Regions from separate parts of the Homo sapiens genome. Here region 1 is linked to region 2. Evidence: promoter capture Hi-C in human tissues and cell types (Jung and others, 2019). All regions are on one chromosome and are shown on one strand. The core of a region is centred on a gene start or on the middle of the fragment in contact, and the rest is flanking DNA. Distances in the headings are between cores, read along the strand shown. Region 1 overlaps ZNF562 (zinc finger protein 562). Region 2 holds the start of ZNF559 (zinc finger protein 559).

Evidence for each region. The method cuts DNA at HindIII sites, captures the fragments that hold promoters and counts their contacts. A contact is called where the count stands out against the background at its distance.
Region 1: a fragment that was not itself captured here is called in contact with the fragment with the promoter of ZNF559 in region 2 in 2 of the 25 tissues and cell types used here (adrenal gland and dorsolateral prefrontal cortex).

The regions. Positions count from the first base shown.
Region 1 is chr19:9,667,149-9,670,551 of GRCh38, forward strand. The region is part of intron 1 of ZNF562 (zinc finger protein 562); the gene reads right to left. Among named protein-coding and RNA genes, the nearest start is that of ZNF562, 6.2 kb to the right of the region's middle. The HindIII fragment of the contact is 8,758 bases long and covers 1-3,403 here.
Region 2 is chr19:9,322,355-9,325,786 of GRCh38, forward strand. It overlaps ZNF559 (zinc finger protein 559), which reads left to right and starts at 1,825. Exons shown (of 7, transcript NM_032497.3): 1 at 1,825-1,874; 2 at 2,341-2,426. It overlaps ZNF559-ZNF177 (ZNF559-ZNF177 readthrough), which reads left to right and starts at 1,825. Exons shown (of 13, transcript NM_001384659.1): 1 at 1,825-1,874; 2 at 2,341-2,426. RefSeq lists an enhancer at 1,669-1,918 and a silencer at 2,089-2,228. The HindIII fragment of the contact is 8,356 bases long and covers 1-3,432 here.

The DNA of each region.
Region 1 (3,403 bases), core at 425-2,924, 340 kb after region 2:
CATTAAGAAAATCATTCATCACAATCAAGTGAAATTCATCGTAGAAATACAAGGATGGTTCAACATATGCAAATCAATAAATGTGACGTACCAAATTAACAGAACCAAGAATAAAAACCGTATGAGATTTCCACAGATGCTGAAACACCATTTGATAAAATTCAATATCCCTTTTTGACAAAAGTCCCCAACAAACTGTGTATAGAACGAATATACCTCAAAATAATAAAGGCCATATATGACACACCCACGTCCAACATCATACTGAACAGGGAAAAATTGAAAGTCTTTCCTCTGAGATCTTGAACAGAACAAGGATGTCCACTTTTACCACTTCTATTCAACATAATACTATAAGTTCTGGCCAGAGCAATTAGGCAAGAGAAACAAATAAAGGGCATCTCAACTAAAAAAGAAGTCAAATTAGCCATGTTTGCCAATGACATGACCTTTTTCTCCTTAGAAACAGGGTCTCCCTCTGTTGCTCAGGCTAGAATGCAGTGGTGATCATAGCTCACTGCAGCCTTGGTCTCCTGGGCTCAAGTGATACTCCTGCCTCAGCCTCCCGAGTAGCTAGAACCACAGGCATGTGTGACAATGCTAACTTTTTTTTTTTTTAGAGACTGGGGGCAGAGGGGTCCTCAATATATTACCCAGGCTGACCTTGAACTCCTGATTTCAAGTGATCCTCTTGCTTTGGCCTCCTAAAGTGCTGGGATTACAGGCATGAGCCACCATGCTCAGCTGACATAATCATATTTAGAAAAACCTAAAGACTCTACCAAAAACCTGTTAGAACTGATAAATGAATTCAGTAAATGTTCAGGACACAAAATCAACATACAAAAATCAGTTGCATTTATATACGCCAACGGTGAACAATCTGAAAAAGAAATCAAGGAAGTAATCACATTTACAATAGCTGCAAAGACTATAAAATGCCAGCACCAGGCATGATGACTCACAATTGTAATCCCAGAATTTTGGGAGGCTGAGGTGGAAGGATTGCTTAAGCCCAACAGTTCAAGACCAGCCTGGGCAACATGGCACGGCTCAGTCTCAATTAAAAAAAAGAAATTAGCCAGGCATGATGGCACACACCTGTAGTCCCAGCTACTCAAAAGAGACTGAGGCAGGAGGATTCCTTGAGCCCAGGAGTTCAAGGCTGCTGCATGAGCTACAACTGCACCACTGTACTCCAGCCTGGGCAACAAAGTGAGACCCCACCTCTGAAAAAAAGAGAAAATAAAAAGTAACCAAAAATGTGAAGGAGCTATACAAGGAAAACTATAAAACACTGATGAAACAAACTGTAGAGAATACAGAAAAAAAATGGAAAGACATTCCATGCTCATGGATTAGAAGAATATTGTTAAAATGACAATACTACCCAAAGCAATTTACAATTAAGAGCAACCGTTATCAAAATAGCAATGACATTCATCGCAAAAATAGAAAAAAAATCCTAAAATTTATATGCAACAATAAAAGACTTCAAACAGCCAAAGAAATACTGAACAAAAAGAACAAAGCTGGAATCATCACACTGCCTTACTTCAAAATATACTACAAAGCTATCATAACCAAATCAGCATGGTACTGACATAAAAAAAACAAACAAACACATAGATCAATGGAAGAGAACAAAGAACCTAAATACAAATCTACACATGTACAGACAGCTCATTTTCAACAAAGGCACCAAAAGCATACAATGGGAAAATAACAGTCTTTTCAATAAATGCTGCTGGGAAAACTGGATAACCATATGCAGAATAAAACTAGATGCCATCTCTCAGCATAAAAAAAAAAAGTCAAAACAGATTAAAGACTTACATCTAACACCTGAAACTATAAAACTAGTAGAGGAAGACCCTTGGGAAACAATCCAGGGCATTGGTCTGGGTAAAGATTTCTTGGGAAGATCTCAAAAGCACAGGCAACAAGAGCAAAAACAAACATATGAGATTACATCAAGCTAAAAAGCTTCTCCACAGCAAAAGAAACAATCAACAAAGTGAAGAAACAATCTACAGTATGGGAGAAAATATTTACAAACTATCCACCTGGGATTAATAATCAGAATATATAAGGAACTCAAACTTGATAACAAAAAAAATCCGATAAAAAAATCAGCAAAAGGTCAGAATAGATGTTTCTCAAAAAAAAGACATACAAATGGCCAACAGGCATACAAAAAAATGCTCAACATCACTAATCATCAGAGAAATACAAATCACACATAACCACAATGAGATATCATCTCACCTCATTTAGAGTGGCTTTTATAAAAAAGACAGGGAATAACAAATGCTGATGAGGATATGGTGAAAAGATAATCCTTGTATGCAGTTGGTGGGAATATAAATTAGTACAGCCACTGTAGAGAACAATATTCAGGTGTGGTGGCTCAGGCCTTTAATCCCAAAACTTGAGGCTGCGGTGGGAGATCACTTGAGCCCAGGAGTTCCAGACCAGGCTAGGCAACACAGCAACACCTGTCTGTACACACATGCACGCACAAAACCTGTCTGAAACTGGCAAGACCTGTCTGCATGCACGCGCGCGAGCGCGCGCGCGCGCGCGCACACACACACACACACACACACACACACACACACACACACAACCAGTCAGGGACAGTAGCTCATGCCTGTAATCCCAGCTCTTTAGGAGGCCAAGGCAGGCAGATCATTTGAGGTCAGGAGTTTGAGACCAGCCTGGTCAACATGGTGAAACTCTGTCTCTACTGAAAATACAAAAATTAGCTGGGCATGGTGGCGTGCACCTGTAGTCCCAGCTACTCCAGAGGCTGAGGTAAGAGAATTGCTTGAACCCAGGAGGCGGACGTTGCAGTGAACCAAGATCGTGCCACTGCACCCCAGCCTGAGTGACAGAGTGAGACTCTGTCTCAAAAAATCAAAGAAACAAACAAAAAAACTTAGCCAGGTGTATTAGTGGAGGCCTGTAGTCCTGGCTACTCAGGAAGCTGAGGTGGGAGGATCACCTGAGCCCAGGAAGTCAAGGCTGCAGTGAGCCATGATTATGCCATGGCACTCTAGCCTGGGTGACACAGCAAGACTATCTCAAAAAAAACAAAACAAAACAAAAAAAACAGTATGGGGGTTTCTCAAAAAATTAAAAATAGAACTACCATATGATCTGGAATCCCATTGGGTATATATCCAAAAGAAAGGAAATCAATATATTTGAAAAGATATATATACATTCCCTTGTTTACCGCAGCACTACTCATAATAGCCAAAATATGGAATCAACCTAAGTGTCTAACAATGAAAGAATGAATAAAGAAAATATGGTATATATAGACAGCAGATTATTATTCAGCCATAAAGAGAATGGAATTCTGTCATTTGCAGCAACTGGATAGAACTGGAGGTCA
Region 2 (3,432 bases), core at 575-3,074:
TTGACTCTACCAGTCAGCAGGATGTGGGTGGGGCCACATAAGAGAATAAAAGCAGGCTGCCCCAGCCAGCAGTGGTAACCCGCTTTGATCCCCTTCCACGCCGTGGAAGCTTTGTTGTTTCACTCTTTGCAATAACTCTTGCTACTGCTCACTCTTTGGGTCCACACTGCTTTTATGAGCTGTAACACTCACCGCGAAGGTCTGCAGCTTCACTCCTGAAGCCAGCGAGACCACGAGCCCACCGGGAGAAATGAACAACTCCAGACGCGCCGCTTTAAGAGCTCTAACACTCACCGCGAAGGTCTGCAGCTTCACTCCTGAGCCAGCAAGACCACGAACCCACCAGAAGGAAGAAACTCCGAGCACATCCGAACATCAGAAGGAACAAACTCCAGACGTGCCACCTTAAGATCTGTAACACTCACCACGAGGGTCCCCGGCTTCATTCTTGGAGTCGGTGAGACCAAGAACCCACCAATTCCGGACACATTAGTACAGGTCTTTGAATAAATTTTGCTTCTAACAGAAGTTACTATTTATTCCTAATTAGATGGGCAGGAAAGTCTTTGAAGAGGAACCTCTACTTTACTTTTTACTGTAGAGAGAGTAGTCTTTGATCTTGGGGAGATGGGGTTTTTCCTTTTGGTTTAGCTTCAGGAAGTTTGTGTTAATTGGCCTTAGGTGCCCTGCCCCCAGCCCCAGGTGTTTTTCCTTTGATTTAACTTTAGGAAATTATCACGAATTGGCCTTAGATTCCCCGACCCCAGATCTTGGTGTTTTCACTTTTAGGAAGTCCGCATGAATCTTATCTATGCTCTTAACTACGTCCTAATTTTTGTGTTTTTTGTCTTTTTTATAGGAATAGGGTTTTGCCATATTGCCCAGGCTGGTCTCGAACTCCTGAGCTCAAGTGGTCTGCCTGCCTCAGCCTCCCAAAGTGCTGGGATCACTGGCGTGAGCCATCAGGCCCAGCCTCTATGTGCTAATTTTTGAACAAATTCCAATAGGAGCATTCTAGTCTCTGAGTGTGAGATGACCAAAAATCAAGCCCTTGTGAGGCTGAATAGAGTCGGGAGGCAGGGAACTTAAGGCTGTTTCAGGCCGACTTCCTAGAACTAAATTGAAAGGAAAACCCTCACTTTCCTCGCCTAAATAACAAAAGGACCAGAGGCTACTCCCTTTGACCTTTTCTGCTGGCAGATAGGAAATTGGCTGTCTGCAACAAATCAGACTGATGGCCGGTTGAGTCTTCATTTGCATAGAAGTGTAACTTTGTAACGTCGTAACTTCACCCTAGCCTTTGATTGGTTGCTTTTTGCAACCAATCAGATGTTTGCACAGGAGTGTGACCTTTGTAACTTCAGACTCTGGTTGGCTGCTTTCTGCAACCAATCAGACTGAACGCGGGCTACCGCTTCATTTACAGGAGGTGAGCATGAAGTGGCCAATGGGAAAATTCTAGGAGGTATTGGGACTCATGAAGGTTCTGTTTCGGAGCCCTTGAGCTGCCGCTTGGCCAGTTCCCACACTGTGGAGTATGCTTTCGTTTTCAACAAATCCCAGCTCTTGTTCTTTTGTTGCTTCATTCTTTCTTTGCTTTGCTGGGCGTTTTGTCTAATTCTTTGTTCAAAACGCCAGTAACCTGGACAGCTTGCAGTCAAGACCCCCTACCGGTGACACTTGCGCTCTTCGGGGAGGTAAACAGCATTTCCTCTCAGCTCTGGGTTGGAAAAAGCCGCAGCAGCTGATGGGCCCGGGAACCCGAGGCCCCGCCCCCTAGGTGGTCCTAGCCTTTGCGCGTGCGCGGCGTGTCTGCGTGGGCGCATGCGCATAACGGCCGCCATCTTAACAGCGCGTTCCCGTTGGCGTCTGAGGTAAGTTTTTGTTTCTGGGCGGCGTTCGGTGGTGTCCCGGTGCAGCCACGCGAGAGTAGAAGGGTGGAAAGGGGAGGTGCCCAGTGAAATGGAGCCTGTCCCGTGCACTTTCGGGCATTTCGAGCATCTTGTGGGCTCTCCCAAGTCGCGGCCCCTCCTCTGAGAGCCACAGTCAGGTCTGTCCTCAGGGGTCGAGGCGGCTGCGCTGGGGCCTCGGCCCGGGAGGAGGCGGGGGGCACGGCCTTTCCATTTTCCCTGCTCCCCTCTGCAGAAGCCTCATAGGGCCCGGCGCGGCGGCTCACGCCTGTCATTCCCAGCGCTTTGGGCGGATTGGGTAGGAGGATTACTTGAGGCCAGGAGTTCAAGACCAGGCAGGGCAACATAGGGAGACCCCCCCCCCCAACCATCTCTAATGGAAAAAAAAAAAAAAGTCTCCACATCCAGCGTTGTGCCTTTTCTCTATAAGGAACAGCATCTCTGCCTTCCTGTTCACGGTGACCTTCGCTTGGTGTCCTCCTGGCCTCAGCAACCTGACAATTCTGTCGTGTCCCGGTGAGCACTTCATGCACTTGTTCTGGCTGTGGGTGTCGGGTCTTGAAGTTTAAGTTGTGTCGAGGTGGAAAGAAACCTTTTCAGGTGGTTGTTCGAGAGCACATGGATCTGATACCATCGAATGCATGAGTGGATGAATGCACATAACTGTAAAATTTACCACCAAGGAAAAACACAGGACTACTCAACTGTGGTTCCAGGCCATCACCTAGATCTCACTCTAGCGCCCTGTAGATTCCCCCAGAGGTTCAAAACGAGGGCATCCCCAGGAACACGGTGCGGGCTGATTTACTAGCAGGAGGGATTGAATTGATAATGAATGCGAAGATAACTTTTGACAGGTGGGTTTTCTACCAGTTACTCATTTGAAAGTCTTACTGAGGGCGGGGCAAGGTGGCTCACACCTGTAATCCCAGCGTTTTGGGAGGCTGAGGCTGGAGGATCGCTTGAGCCCAGGAATTTGATGCCAACCTGGAAAAAATAGGGCAAGCCTCTGTCTCTACTAAAAATAAAAAATTAGCTGGGCATGGTGGTGTCTGTGGTCCCATCCACTTTGGAGGCCGAGATGCGAGGATCACTTGAGCATGGGAGGTCGAGGCTGCTGTGAGCCATTATTGTGTCACTGCATTCCAGCTTAGGCAACAGAGTGAGACCCTGTTTCAAAAAGAAGAAAAAAAAACAAATACTGATCTAGAGAACATCTGTAGCTCGAGTAAAACAAATGTCTTTAGTCCAGGTGTGGTGGCTCACGCCTGTAATCCCAGCATGTTGGGAGGCTGAGGCTGGCGGATCACGAGGTCAGGAGTTTGAGACCAGCCTGGCCAACATAGTGAAACCCCGTCTTTACTCAAAATACAAAAAATTAGCCGGGCGTGGGCACCTGTAATCCCAGCTACTCAGGAGCCTGAGGCAGGAGAATCGCTTGAACCTGGGAGGCAGAGGTTGCAGTGAGCCAAGATTGCACCCTTGCATTCCAGCCTGGGCAACAGTGCGAGACTCCGTCTCC